Linked DNA regions of Homo sapiens: region 2 is linked to region 1. The links are contacts of gene promoters, found by promoter capture Hi-C in blood cells and fetal thymus (Javierre and others, 2016). All regions are on one chromosome and are shown on one strand. The core of a region is centred on a gene start or on the middle of the fragment in contact, and the rest is flanking DNA. Distances in the headings are between cores, read along the strand shown.

What was found. The method cuts DNA at HindIII sites, captures the fragments that hold promoters and counts their contacts. A CHiCAGO score of 5 or more calls a contact.
Region 2: the fragment with the promoter of SRSF9 here is called in contact with a fragment that was not itself captured in region 1 in 3 of 17 cell types (M2 macrophages, erythroblasts and M1 macrophages); the score reaches 7.4 in M2 macrophages.

Annotation. Positions count from the first base shown.
Region 1 is chr12:120,556,562-120,563,900 of GRCh38, forward strand. RNF10 (ring finger protein 10) reads left to right here. Exons shown (of 17, transcript NM_014868.5): 5 at 721-905; 6 at 985-1,121; 7 at 4,165-4,325; 8 at 6,384-6,509; 9 at 6,786-7,062; 10 at 7,249-7,339. Among named protein-coding and RNA genes, the nearest start is that of POP5, 21 kb to the right of the region's middle. The HindIII fragment of the contact is 487 bases long and covers 5,055-5,541 here.
Region 2 is chr12:120,464,883-120,472,457 of GRCh38, forward strand. SRSF9 (serine and arginine rich splicing factor 9) reads right to left here and starts at 4,866. Exons shown (of 4, transcript NM_003769.3): 1 at 4,540-4,866; 2 at 745-905. The coding sequence starts at 4,727. It also overlaps a transcript of DYNLL1 not described here. RefSeq lists silencers at 4,105-4,274, 4,525-4,824. The HindIII fragment of the contact is 9,777 bases long and covers 1-6,350 here.

The DNA of each region.
Region 1 (7,339 bases), core at 4,048-6,547:
GAACTCTCACTACTGTGAAAATGTATAAAATCATCTGAGAATGACATAGCATAAAAACTTAAGTTTTATTAAAAAAAAATGAAGTCTTTTTAATGCGTTCTTTGTTGGAAGTTACTGGTAGATTACTTCTAGACCCTTTTTAGGCCTTTATGCATACATATTAAGTTTTTTTATAAATGGGAATATAGTGATTTGTCACTTTTTTCTATTTAATGTAGAACCCCCAACATACCTGTTGTGTATTAGTTTTATTATATTTAACGGTTATTATGGTTTCCTTGATGCTTTGCTTAAAGAGCTATCATACAAAGCCAGGCGCGGTGGCTCACGCCGGTAATTCCAGGACTTTGGGAGGCCGAGGCGGGCGGATCACAAGGTCAGGAGATCAAGACCATCCTGGCTAACACAGTGAAACCCCGTCTCTACTAAAAAATTAGCTGAGCGTGGTGGCAGGCGCCTGTAGTCCCAGCTACTCCAGAGGCTGAGGCAGGAGAATGGCGTGAACCAAGGAGATGGACCGTCTCAAAAAAAAAAAAAAAAGAAAAAAATGATCATACATGTACCTACGTTGTAAACAATTTTAGAAAGATATGTTGAGTATAAGGATGTACGGGGATAGAGATGAGAGAGATGCGGATGAGAGAGTAGAGAGGCCTAAAACTTTGACAGTCCCTAATCAGTTCTTCAAGCAGTGAACCTTCTGGTGGCATTTTGTTTCAGCGCATTTGTAGCCATGAAGTGCCATCTTGCCCAATATGCCTCTATCCACCTACTGCAGCCAAGATAACCCGTTGTGGACACATCTTCTGCTGGGCATGCATCCTGCACTATCTTTCACTGAGTGAGAAGACGTGGAGTAAATGTCCCATCTGTTACAGTTCTGTGCATAAGAAGGATCTCAAGAGGTGAGATTGAGACATTTACTCAGTTAGATCCCAATCTCTTCACTCCTTGCCCTGCTACATATGAGTGTCCATGTTTCAGTGTTGTTGCCACAGAGTCACATCAGTATGTTGTTGGTGATACCATTACGATGCAGCTGATGAAGAGGGAGAAAGGGGTGTTGGTGGCTTTGCCCAAATCCAAATGGATGAATGTAGACCATCCCATTCATCTAGGAGGTGAGTTCTTTAAATTTTGGGGACAAATAATCCTGGGTACATTCTTTAAGGTGATTGAATATATCTAAGCATCAGAAAGTGAAGCCTTTGGGCAGGGCACATCTGGCATGTTCATATTAGTCATAGGATTCCAGTAGGTTAGGGTGGGGTTTGTAGAGAGTAGATTAATTATTGGTTTCAAGTTTGTTTAATCTATACATCCTAATTTTTCATTTTACAAGGTTTTATTACATAGTGTCTTTCACTGTGCCCAATCTTAGAGGTTCTGTGGTCAGCCAGTCTTGGTGCCTGTCGTCAAGAAACTCAGTAGTCCGATAGAAGAGACAGACTGGTAGACTGGCCATTAGGATAAAGAGTGTGATAAGTGCTCACAATGAATGCCAGAGATGTATTCCCTGTGTTTCATGCAGAAATGAGCATTTGATTAAAATAGCATTTCAGTCTCTGGGGAAAAGATAGATTTCTCAATAAATGGTATTGAAACAATTGATTCTCCCTAAGGAAAAAATAAAATTAGATTCCTATTTCATACCATTCATGAAATTAATTCCAGATAGATTGAAGAAGTAAATGTAAAAAATCCAAAAGTTTTAACCTTTTTATTTAAAAGAAAATATAGGACAATTTCTTTATAAATCCTCAGATGTGCATCTGTCTGAAGGATTGTGTGTTCTCATTTGGGTGGTAAATGTGTGTGTGTAATATTTTTTTCCTAGTGATTTTGACTGTTTAAATGTTTAGCAACTTAAAACATTAAAAATGTGTATTAATTAAAAAAAAATCCTCAGATATGGGTGGATTTTTGAACCAGGCTGAAATGATAGATGCTGTAAAAGACTGATAAATTTTATTTTTATTTTATTTATAGATATATAATATAATATGTATATATATATTTTTTTTTGAGACAGAGTCTGGCTCTGTCACCCAGGCTGGAGTGCAGTGGCATGATCTTGGCTCACTGCAACCTCTGCCTCCCGGGTTTGAGCGATTCTCGTGCCTCAGCCTCCCGAGTAGCTGGGACTACAGGCGCCCGCCACCATGCCTGGCTGATTTTTTTTGTATTTTTAGTAGAGACGGGGTTTCACCATGTTGGCAGGCTAGTCTCGAACTCCCGAGCTCAAGTGATCTGCCCGCCTTACCTCCCAAAGTGCTGGGATTACAGGCGTGAGCCACTGTGACCGGCCAAGAAAACCACTTTTAGTGTCCACAGAATTTTCGTTAATGAACATACCATCATGTCATTAACCCTTTATTTGAGATGGAATCTCACTTTGTCGCCTGGGCTGGAGTGCAGTGGCAATAATTACTTTTAATTAATTAAATTCATTAAAATAATTAAAATTAATTTAATTAATTAAATTAACTTTTAATTTTAAATTATTTTTTTTATTTTAAAAAATTAACTGGGCATGCAGGTATAGTTAATTTTTTATTTTTATTTTTAGCAGAGATGAGGTCTTGCTATGTTGATAGGCTGGTCTTGAACTACTCTTTTTTTTTTTTTTTTTTTTTTTGAGACGGAGTCTTGCTGTGTTTCCCAGGCTGGAGTGCAATGGTGTGATCTCGGCTCACTGCAACCTCCACCTCCTCGGTTCAAACGATTTTCCTTCCTCAGCTTCCTGAGTAGCTGGCATTTCAGGCACCTGCCACCACGCCCGGCTAATTTTTGTTTTTTTTGTGTGTGTGTGTTGTGCTTTTTTTGTTTTTGTTTTTGTTTTGAGATGGAGTCTCACTCTGTTGCCAGGCTGGAATGCAGTGGTGCAATCCCGGCTCACTGCAATCTCCGCCTCCCAGGTTCAAGAGATTCTCCTGCCTCAGCGTCCTGAGTAGCTGAGATTACAGGCACGCACCACCACACCTGGCTAGTTTTTGTATTTTTAGTAGAGACGGGGTTTCACCATGTTGGCCAGCATGGTCTCAATCTCTTGATCTTGTGATCCGCCTACCTCAGCCTCCCAAAGTGCTGGGATTACAGGTGTGAGCCACCGTACTCCGCCTGGTGTTATTTTTTTTTAATTTTATTTTTTGAGGCAGAGTTTTGCACTTGTTGCCCAGGCTGGAGTGCAATGGTGCGATCTTGGCTCACTGAAACCTCTGCCTCCTGGGTTCAAGCGATTTTCTTACTCCAGCCTCCCTAGTAGCTGGGATTATAGGCGCCCGTCACCACGCCCAGCTAATTTTTTGTATTTTTAATAGAAACAGGGTATCTCTATGTTGGCCAGGCTGGTTTCGAACTCCTAACTTCAGGTGATCCACCTGCCTCAGCCTCCCAAAGTGCTGAACGTGAGCCACCACACCCAGCTGGCTTGGTCTTAAACTTCTAAACTCAAGCAATCTTCCTGTCTTGGCCTCTCAAAGTACTGGGATTATAGGTGTGAGCCACTGCGCTGGTCCACCATTTCTTTATTCTTTATTGTTGGTTTTACTGGTTGGTTTGAGCTTTTCTTTTTCTGTGTGTGGTTTTTTTTGTTTTTTTTTTTTTTGAGACAGAGTTTCGCTTTTGTTGCCCAAGCTGGAATGCAGTGGCATGATCTTGGCTCACTGCGACCTCTGCCTCCTGGGTTCAAGCGATTCTCCTGCCTCAGCCTCCCAAGTAGCTGGGATTACAGGCATGCCCTACCAGGCCCGACTAACTTTTTTGTATCTTTAGTAGAGACGGGGTTTCACCATGTTGGTCAGGCTGGTCTCGAACTCTTGATCTCAAGTGATCCACCCGCCTTGACCTCCCAAAGTGCTGGGATTACAGGTGTGAGCCATGGTGCCTGGCTGGTTTGAGCTTTTCTGATATTACATACAATGCTGTAACAATAAACGCGTGACTAAAGTTTTGACTACATCTCTGGGTTTCTTAGATTTCTTATATCAAGAGCAGAGCTACAGACCTTATTTTAAGACCATTGTTAAATTATTTTCTAGGAAATCATGCTAAATTACCCCATTTTCACCCCAGAGAAAAGGCTGTATTTGAAAATTCCTATTTAGCTACACCATCGTGAGCTTTGAATGTTGCATTTCTTTGATCTTGCTGGCATTCTTATAGATGAACAGCACAGCCAGTACTCCAAGTTGCTGCTGGCCTCTAAGGAGCAGGTGCTGCACCGGGTAGTTCTGGAGGAGAAAGTAGCACTAGAGCAGCAGCTGGCAGAGGAGAAGCACACTCCCGAGTCCTGCTTTATTGAGGCAGCTATCCAGGAGCTCAAGGTGAGAGGATGCATTGGAGATGCTAAACCTTTTCACTTTCTCGGCGTTCTGTGGTGAAAACCAGAAATGCTAAACCTTTTCACTCTGTCGGGGGTGAGATGATGGACGCTGGGGATTAAGTTAGTTCCATTCCACATTTAAGACAATAAGCAGAGAATGGCTAAAAAAGCCAATTTGTTTTGGGCTTTGTTTGATGACAGTAGAGAAGGTTTAACCTAGGGCTTTTAAAGCTCTTTCTAGAGCTGAAAGGAGCAAGTCAAAATGATTTTATAACTAATTGTGACAGTGGAGTTTTTTAGATTAGCTATGTTCTTAAAGCAAGTTAGAGTTCTTTGTTTTCTGGGAAAATACTTAAGATTCTATTCTAGAGGTGTTTTGAAAGACATTGTGGAGAAAGTATTATGGCCTGCCCAGTATGCCTTAGGAGTACCTGAAACGGCAAGAATTACACAAGAACAGAATTCCCTGGGTCTTTTATCTTCCACAACAGAGATTCTTGAAGCATCACAACCACTGGTTGTTAGGTCCCACTTTGAGATATTGATTGCATAGGTTAAGCTCAGTAGGCTCAGTAATTTGCATATAACAAGTTCTAGGGTGATTCTGATGGCTGCTCATCCCCAGACCACACTCCTGGAACCACTGATCTAGCTTAGAGCAATAGAAGCCCATATTTATTGAGTGATCAGCATTTGATAGGACTTGTGCTATACACATTTATCTCACTTAAGCTTCTAGTGTGGTAGATAGAACTATCCCCTTTCATGGATGAGGAAACTGAATCCTGGGTTGGGTAATTTGCTAGTAAGGGATGCAGCTGGTATTTGAATTCCCTTCTCCCTGACTCCCAAGGGCTCCTTGGGTAGAGTCCTGTGTATTTAACTTTTGCTTTCTTTCTATAATACGTTGCAGCCGTATTTGTTCAAATGCCATTACAGGCATAAGAAAGGCTACATAGAATTAGAGCTGTCCAGGCTGAGGTGGAGTTAGCTAAATCCTTCCTACTACTCTGGACCTCTGTCTGAGCATAGTTTGTAAAAACTAGGTTAGTTTCATGTTCTTAGATTTCTGTTCTGGAAGTTTTTTGTATAGTGTTGTTTGTGTCAGATTCTCTTTTATTTTTTTTAACTTTTAAGTTCAGGGGTACAAATGCAGGTTGTTACATGGTAAACCTGTGTCATGGGGGTTTGTTATACAGATTTTCACCCAGGTATTAAGCTTAGTACCCATTGGTTATTTTTCCTGATCCCCTCCCTCCTCCCACTCTCCACCCTCTGATAGGCCTCAGTGTGTGTTCCCCTCTATGTGTCCATGTTTCATCATTTAGCTCCCACTTAGAAGTGAGAACATGTGTGCGATATTTGGTTTTTCTTTTTCTTTCTTTCTTTTTTTTTTTTTTTTTTTTGAGACAGAGTTTTGCTCTCGTTGCCCAGGCTGGAGTGCAGTGGCGTGATCTCGGCTCATCACAACCTCTGCCTCCAAGGTTCAAGTGATTCTCCTGCCTCAGCCTCCTGAGTAGCAGGAATTACAGGCATGCCCCACCATGCCTGGGTTATTTTGTATTTTTAGTAGAGATGGGGTTTCTCCATGTTGGTCAGGGTGGTCTTGAACTTCCAACCTCAGGTGATCCGCCCACCTCAGTCTCCCAAAGTGCTGGGATTACAGGCATGAGCCACCACACCTGGCCGTATGTGTCTTTACAGTAGAATGATTTATATTCCTTTGGCTATATACCCAGTAATGGGATTGCTGGGTGAAATTTTATTTCTGTCTTTAGGTCTTTGAGGAATCACCACACTGTCTTCCACAATGATTGAACTAATTTACACTCCCCAGTGTCAGATTCTAAGCAGATTCCAATCCTTAGTGGGTATTGCATGCTTTTTGCTTCCTGTTTCCCTCAAAGTTGAGATATTTAAGCACCTAATTCCTTCCCATTGGGTCTCATTGCCTTTTAACTTTTGGTCCTGTTGAGAGGCCATTCTAAGCCCTTGCCCTTCAAGCTAAGTGTGTGTCTGGAAACTTAACCTTCTCTGGTGTTCTCTCTGGCCACGTTAGACTCGGGAAGAGGCTCTGTCGGGATTGGCCGGAAGCAGAAGGGAGGTCACTGGTGTTGTGGCTGCTCTGGAACAACTGGTGCTGATGGCTCCCTTGGCGAAGGAGTCTGTTTTTCAACCCAGGAAGGTTAGTGTGTTCCTGTTACTAAGTGGCTGCCGTTCCTCAAATGCTGTCATTGAGCTGGTAGGCATTACTGTGAGATCTAAACCTTCTCAAGAGAAGAGGGGACAATGAGTATTTTCTGTATGCTTGTTATTAGTTCTTTCCCCAGGGGTGTTAAATCAGTGAACACGACAGCTAAGATAAACATCTAGGGAGCTTGGCTCTTAGGTCTGCATTTGCCACATTGCTTTCGGAAAGCAGGAGATATCCTTTCTGTTGACTTAGAGTTTGCTGCAACAGGGTGTGCTGGAGTATCTGTCTGCCTTCGATGAAGAAACCACGGAAGTTTGTTCTCTGGACACTCCTTCTAGACCTCTTGCTCTCCCTCTGGTAGAAGAGGAGGAAGCAGTGTCTGAACCAGAGCCTGAGGGGTTGCCAGAGGCCTGTGATGACTTGGAGTTAGCAGATGACAATCTTAAAGAGGGGACCATTTGCACTGAGTCCAGCCAGCAGGAACCCATCACCAAGTCAGGCTTCACACGCCTCAGCAGCTCTCCTTGTTACTACTTTTACCAAGGTGAGGGTGCCGGAAGAGAGGGCTGGGTTGCCGCAGAGGTGTTTCAGAGGTGACCCGGTGCTCTAAGCAGAGGAGCGCCACTAGATCCTGTGGCTTGGGTGGCTTGAGCCCTTGGGCATGGGGAGGGGTGGGGAGCCTCCTGGGGACTGGCCAAGACTGGTGTGTGATAGAGCCCCTTGTCCTCAGCGGAAGATGGACAGCATATGTTCCTGCACCCTGTGAATGTGCGCTGCCTCGTGCGGGAGTACGGCAGCCTGGAGAGGAGCCCCGAGAAGAT
Region 2 (7,575 bases), core at 3,616-6,115, 92 kb before region 1:
AGGGAATAGAGTTCTGGGGTTAAAAAATTACAAAGGGACACAAGATAGGCAGATACTGAGAGTATCACTCTTAAGCACATGGGAGTATGCTGTGATTGTGTGACATTCACATCTTAAAAAGGTGCCAGGCTCCTCGATTTATTTCATTCCACCAGGGCCCTAAAACTCCCATGCAATATGCAGAAGGCCCCAGGTCTTTCCAGTGTGTTAATATTTTGAAGATAGATAAACCTCCCAGTTTAGCATTTCATCACTTATAAACACTAGACAGAAATAGTCTATACTTTCCAATAAAATCTCTAAGACTCTTAAGTTACGGGGTTTTAAAAAATATTTAATTCTAAAACCACCACAAAATCTGATCTTCTTCAGGATCCAAGGCTGGGTAAGTTGTTCAAATCTGGCTCCTTGAATGCCTTTCTACCATGTCTGATGCCAAGTATATTCCAAAAGAAGCATCTTTAGAATTGTAGCTCAAGTTTTCCCATCATCTTTCCTTCTCACCACTAGAAAACTCCTTTACAAGAAATATGGTTATGTTCTTCCAAGGCTGCACTCCCAGCGCAATTTCATTTGCAGGATACTTTCCTCATTGGCAATCCAGGGCAAGGCTTCACACAGGCTATTGAAAAGAAAGCCCCCGTGTCCCATGCACTGAAGAATAACAGCTATCATTTCTTGGAAGACAGACTCTGTGTTAAGTATTTTACATGTATCATCTCATTCTGTTTGAAAGGAACATACCTGAAACAAGAACTCGGAAATCAGATCTTCTTGTAGGAGGCCCATTCCTCCCACCACGGGGCCACCCACCCCGACCTCCATAAGTCCTGGGGAACTCCACACGAAGCCGACACTGGCCATAATCATAACCATTTCTTCCATAAATAGCATCCTCTGCATCTCTAAAAAAAACAACAACAACAAAAAAAACGTTTGGAGTTAGTGCTGTTCAGGAGGCCAAGTGACTTTCCAAGTGAGGGGCATGAGTAGTAAGCATAAAAGGGAAACCTAGAGTGAAGAAAAAAACACACAAATCAGGATCCTGAAGCACTTCTGCTTTGGTTTGGAGACGTTTCATGATACTGGAATTAACCTTTACAGCTGTCACACGCAGTTTTAGAGGTATGAAATTATAATGAATGAGCAAACAGATTACTCATAAGAGGGCTAATTCAGAGAAAAAAAAGAATCAACTGCTGACAGATTATTGATTTTGCCAATAAACCATCAGTGTTTTTCTAATCTTCGTGAGCATTTTCTCGAAAAGCACACCACACACTAACCCCTTAATATTTTTCTACAAAGCCTAGTGCCATAAAGTCTATGGAAATAAAAAGTAGGCGGTTAGCCAGGCATGGTGTTGCACGCCTGTAGTCCCAGCTACTTGAGAGGCTGAGATGGGAGTGCAGAGCCAAGATCACACTACTGTACTCCAGCCTGGGTGACAGAGACCCTGTCCCAAAAAACAGGAAAAAAAAAGTAGCCAGTTAGATAGGAGAGTATTTGAGGGTAAATAAAGTAGCTGGGCATGATGTTTGAGCCCAGGTCAGGCCAGCCTGGGTAATATAGTGAGACCCGGTCTTTTAAAAAAATAAATAAATAAGGCTCAAAGGACAAAAGAAAAATGCAAATGAGTGTTTTGTGATGAATGTGGAACTTTTTTTTTTTTTGAAACGGGGTCTTGCTCTGTCACCAAGGCTGAGTGCAGTGGCTGGAGCATAACTCACAGCAGCTTCTAACTCTTGGGCGCAAGCAATCCTCCCACCTCAGCCTCCTGAATAGCTAGGGCCACAGGCGTGTACCACTGCACCCAGCTAATTTTTGGATTTTTTGTAGAGACAGGTCTCCCTCTGCTGGCCAGCCTGGTCTTGAACTCCTGGGCTCAGGCGATCCTTCCCCTCAGTCTCCCAAAGTGCTAGGATTACAGGCATAAGCCACTGCGCCTGGCCTTGGAACTCTAAGTGTACCTTTTCAGCATGGTTTGGAGAACTATTTTTGTCAAAAAACATTCTTTGGATACAATTTTGCCAAAAGAGATAAATATTCAATAAAATTACTTTAAGTCTTTCCTAGGACTCTAGGAGAGTCAGGAATGCCACGTTGATTCTCCAGTATTGGATGGTAGAAAGTGTGACCTTGGAGCTTGGGTGGACAAGAGGAGCTGAATGTGCTAATGAAGGCATTGTTCAGTGTCACAGGCACATAATCACTTGTAAGATTTTAGAACTAAAAGCAACAATGACCATATCCAGTGCAACCTTGACTACGTAAAATGCAGACTGGGAGAGGCAGAACTGCTAGGAGGTCAGAACAACTCTGAATAAAAACTGGCCAGCATTCAGGCCAGGCGCTGTGGCACATGCCTGTAATCCCAGCACTTTGGGAGGTGGATCACTTGAGGTTAGCAGCTTGAGACCAGTCTGGGCAACCTGGTGAAACCCCTCGTCTCTACTAAAAAGATAAAAATTAGCTGGGCATGGCATCGCGCAGCTGTAATCCCAGCTACTCAGGAGGCTGAGGCACGAGAATCTCTTGAACCCAGGAGGCGAAGGTTGCAGTGAGCTGAGACTGTGCCGCTACACTCCAGCCTGCACGACAGAGCCAGACTCCATCTCAATAAATACAATAAATAAATAAAATTAGCCTGCATTCAAATCACTATTCTGCAAATTACTAGTAGTCATCTCTGGGTAAGTGTTTAATCAAGTTTTTACATCTCTAATGTGAACAGTATGCCTATCTCACAGGGTTATTGTAATGGTTAAATAAGATACTACATGAAATGCTTTGCTTGAATCTTCACATCTAGTGACACCAAAAGATAGTTTTTCTATTATGAAAGGAATGAGGGAAGATGACAATGTAGCGTATCATATAGTAAGTTTGCATTCGAAAAACAGAAGAGGGAGTTCAAATCCATTGATCCCGGCCTGGCGTGGTGGCTCAGGCCTGTAACCTCAGCATTTTGGGAGGCTGAGGTGGGTGGATCACTTGAGGTTAGGAGTTCAAGACAAACCTGGCCAACATGGAGAAACCCCGTATCTGCTGAACATAGAAAAATCAGCCAGGCATGATGGCGGGCGCCTGTAATCCCAGCTACTGGGAAGCTGAAGCGGGAGAATCGCTTGAACTCAGGTGGCGGAGGTTGCGGTGGGCCGGGATCGCACCACAGCACTCCAGCCTGGGCAACAAGAGTGAAGACCTGTCTCAAAAAAAAAAAAAAAATAGTACCTACACCTCATAAATTGTTAAAAATACTAAATACAGGCTGGGCGGGTTGCTCACGCCTGTAATCCTAACAATTTGATCCGCTGAGACGGGAGAATCACCTGAGCTCAGGAGTTCCAGACCAGCCTGAGCAACATGGTGAAACCCCTAATTTATCAATCTAAAAAAATAAGAAGGAAAGAAAAAAAGCTAAATACACACCATGGCACTTGACCCATAGCAACTGTTGAAAAACCACAATGGCACGGTTACTAAATAAGCGAGGCATAGCCTTCTCCGGCTTAGGGGTAAAAATGCCCAGTTCCGGTTTTGAGGCAAATGAGGAGATACTAGGGATGAGCTGTCAGAGTCGACTCTTCAGCCATCAACGCCTCGCGGTGCTTCCTGCCTGCCCTTCCTCAGATGCTCCCCTTGCCCTATCAATACGTCCACCCCAGGTAGGTCGGACACCCTACGAACATTCCGCGTTCCCCGGGAGCAAATGATGCTAGGAAAACAGGGTGCGGGCTCTTATTTGGCCGGAGTGGAGTGACCAGGTCAGCGCCGCAGCTGCTAACCACCACCAACCACAGTTTTGAAAGTTCCTGGGCTTTTTCCGGCCTGAGGGCCGACGCTGTTTGCAAAATCACAAGCACTCCTTAGAGCGGGGTTAGGAATCTAGAGTTTCCAAATCCCTGGAACCTTTAGCATCTCGCCAAGCCTCCCTCATCAAAGGAGGGAAGTGAAATCAGAGCCCCACTCCGGCTGTTTTAGAAGTTTTCCCGAATCCGTGATCCCTTTACAAAGCCCGGGCCCTGGCCTGCGGGGCGGGGCGCGCGAACGGCGAGCTATTCCACCAGAGATCCCTCCACGACCTCCAGCGGCATCCGCGACCCTGCAGCTTGCTCTCCAGCCACGGCGAGCACGGGCCGGGGGAGAGGCGAGCGGGAAGGGCGAACGGCGACCCCCGCGCTGCCCCGCGGCCGCTTCCCCCTACGGTGCTGCCCCAGGCAGGAGGCGGACAAGGCTCATTTGGACCCCCCGAGGCCGGTGCAGGCGGGCTTGGGCCCTCCAAAGGCTCAGCTTTTGGGTTTCTAAGTAAAATATTGGAATAATAAAAATAAAGGAAGTGACGACGGCGCGAAGGACGGCCCGGGCCTGCGAGGAGAGGCTGCCTCATCCTCCACCCGTGAGGGGGCGCCGTGAGGGGTCTGCGCGGAGGCGGGGGGAGGGGAGGCCGGGGGGAGGGGAGCCCTGGGGGAGGGGACAGCAGGGAAGGCGGGGGCCTCAGGCACCGAGGAGGAGAGGGCAGGGGCGCGGGGGCCTCACCGGGGGTCCTCGAAGCGCACGAAGGCGAAGGGCACGAGGCCGTGCCGGTTCTTGAGCTCGATCTCGCGGATGCGGCCGTACTTGTAGAACAGGTCCTCCAAGTCCTTCTCGCGCACGTCGGTCGGAAGGTTCCCCACGTAGATGCGCCCGTCGCCCTCGCCGCCGCGCTCGTCCGCCCAGCCCGACATCCGCACCGCCCGACGCCGCGGGCCCGCCGCAGCCCACGTCGCCGCCGCCGCCTCAGCACGGGTCCCCCCGCAGCGTCCCCGCGGGCTCCGAGGCGCTCAGCCGCACTGCATTGTGGGAACGCGGAGCGGAAGCGAAGGGGTCGGCGGAGGCAAAAGGAGTCCTCTTAAAGAGAACGCGGCTGCGACCATTGCGCGTGCGCGCAGGCCGGCGCCCCCTGGAGGTGCGAAGGGCCTTCGGGCGCTGACAGGGAGAGCCTGGGGCCGGGCCGTGTGGATGCCATCCCCGAGCGCGGTTCGCGCTCGGCTGAGGCGCTGGACAAGTGGCTTGGGCTCCCGCGCCTCAGTTTCTCTCTGTGGCGCCGCCTACCTCACAGACTTGTGAGCACTCACTGACGTGGGTAGCGCCCAGGGCCTGCGGGGCGCAGGAGAGCTGGAGTCAGGCGGAGACCGCAGGCTGACCCCGCAGCGGCCGGGCTGTCGCGGCCCCCACCTCAGGTCAGTAGGCCCCCGGGCCACCCTGTCCCCATTTTACAGTTGCTCAGAACTGACGGTGTCAGCATGAGATGGACTCCATAGCTTGGCCTTGAGTTTGTCGGAGTCGAGGGAGTAAGACTCTTAATGAGTATCACAGCGATCACTATAGAGTGCATCCGACTTGTGCTTTTCATCCTCTCCCGGGCAGAGTCTGAGGCCACAGAGGGGTCAGGAATGGAACCCAGAGCCATGCTCCCATCCTAAGTACTGAGTCCTTATGGAGCTCAGGTAGACACCCACCTTGGCACTTACTTTTCCACATTCACATCCCAGAACGCGGAGCATTGAACCCAGGGACCTTACAGTGAGGCCTTGCACCAGAAGACTTTTTGTTTGTTTTTGATACAGGGTCTTATTCTGTTGCTCAGGCTGGAGTGCAATGGCGCGAACACGGCTCACTGCAGTCTCGATCTCGCTGGACTCAGGTGATCCTCCCACCTCGGGGCGCCGTGAGGGGTCTGCGCTGCGTCCAGCTAGTTTATTTTCTATTTTTTTTGTAGAGAGGCTGGTCTCGAACTCCTGGGCTCAACCGATCCTCCAGCCTTGGCCTCCCAAAGTGTTGGATTACCGGCTTGAGCCCGGCGCCCGGCTGGAATACTCCTAACCTAAAGATTGTTCAGGCTGGGTGCGGTGGCTCACGCCTGTAATCCCAACACTTTGAGAGGCCAAGGCGGGAGGATCACTTGAGGTCAGTAGTTCGAGACTAGCCTGGGCAACATGGGGAAACCCCGTTTCTACTAAAAATACAAAAATTAGCTGGGCGTGGTGGCGTGTTCCTATAATCCCAGTTACGCGGGAGGCTGAGGCAGGAGAATTGCTTGAGCCCGGGAGGCGAAGGTTGCAGTGAGCCGAGATCATGCCACTGCACTTCAGCCTGGGTGACAGAGTGAGACTGTCTCAAAAATAAATAAAGATTTTTCATATTAAAAATGAAACCTGGCTGGGCGTGGTGGCTCATGCCTGTAATCCCAGCACTTTAGGAGGCTGAGGTGGGTGGATCACTTGAGGCCAGGAGTTCAAGACCAGCCTGGCCAACATGGCAAGACCCGCCCCCCTACTAAAAATACAAAAAAAAAAAAAAATTAGCCAAGCTTGGTGGCACGCCTGTAGTCCCAGCTGCTTGGGAGGATGAGGCACGAGAATCGCTTGAATCTGGGAGGCAGAGGTTGCAGTGAGCCGAGATTGTGCCACTGCACTCCTCCAGCCTGGGTGACAGAGGGAGACTCTGTCTCAAAAACAAGACAAAACAAAAACAAACAAAAAAAGGGACTAAAACCACACATTTAATCAGAAGGTAGTTGATTTCTCATTATACCATCTGAGCATTTTAAAATCAAAACAAACCAAAGACTAGACACCCACATATACTACTGAGTGTATATCTTTTTTGGAATACAAGTTGATAGTATACATCAGGCTTTCATAATATACATATACCCTTCGATCTTGTAATTCTGCTTGTAGGATTTTTTGTTTGTTTGTTTTGAGACGGAGTCTTACACTGTCACCCAGGCTGCAGTGCAGTGGCGTGATCTCGGCTCACTGCAAGCTCCGCCTCCCAGGTTCATGCCATTCTCCCGCCTCAGCCTCCTGAGTAGCTGGGACTACAGGTGCCTGCCACCACGCCCGGCTGATTTTTTTATATTTTTAGTAGAGACAGGGTTTCACCGTGTTAGCCAGGATGATCTCAATCTCCTGACCTCGTGATCCGCCTGCCTCAGCCTCCCAAAGTGCTGGGAATACAGGCGTGAGCCACCGCGCCCAGCTGCTTGTAGGATTTTTATCAGACGGAAATAAGCAAGAGATTCTCATAATAAATTACATGTGTATATTTATCATTGCATTCTGTGCAATTAAAAAAATTAAACTTGATAATAAGGGAGTGGCTCAACACATTAACTTTGAATGTTACACAATTATTAAGTCATGTTTTTAATATGACAGAGATATTAAAGTCACAGTAATTTACAGTTAAAGTGAATTGAAAGTGGTGTTTAATGTATACACATATATAGTGTATTTGCTGCTTGTAACAAAAAAAAAATAGAAAAAGCTTTCCAAATGTTGTGGTTGTGGAGATATCTCTTGATGGCAGTGATTTCTATGTTTTTATTTATGCTTTTCTGTATTTCTCAAATTGTAATTAGCATGCACTACTTTTATAATTGGAATAAAACATAATAAATGATTCCTAAAATAAAACCATTATAACTATCTGTTGTATTCTGGATTATGTAAAGCATCTAGCTGTTCTCTAGACAAGCAGGAAAGAGCCCTGGCCAAATATGATCTCGAGTCTAAGTGTGCAGCCTTA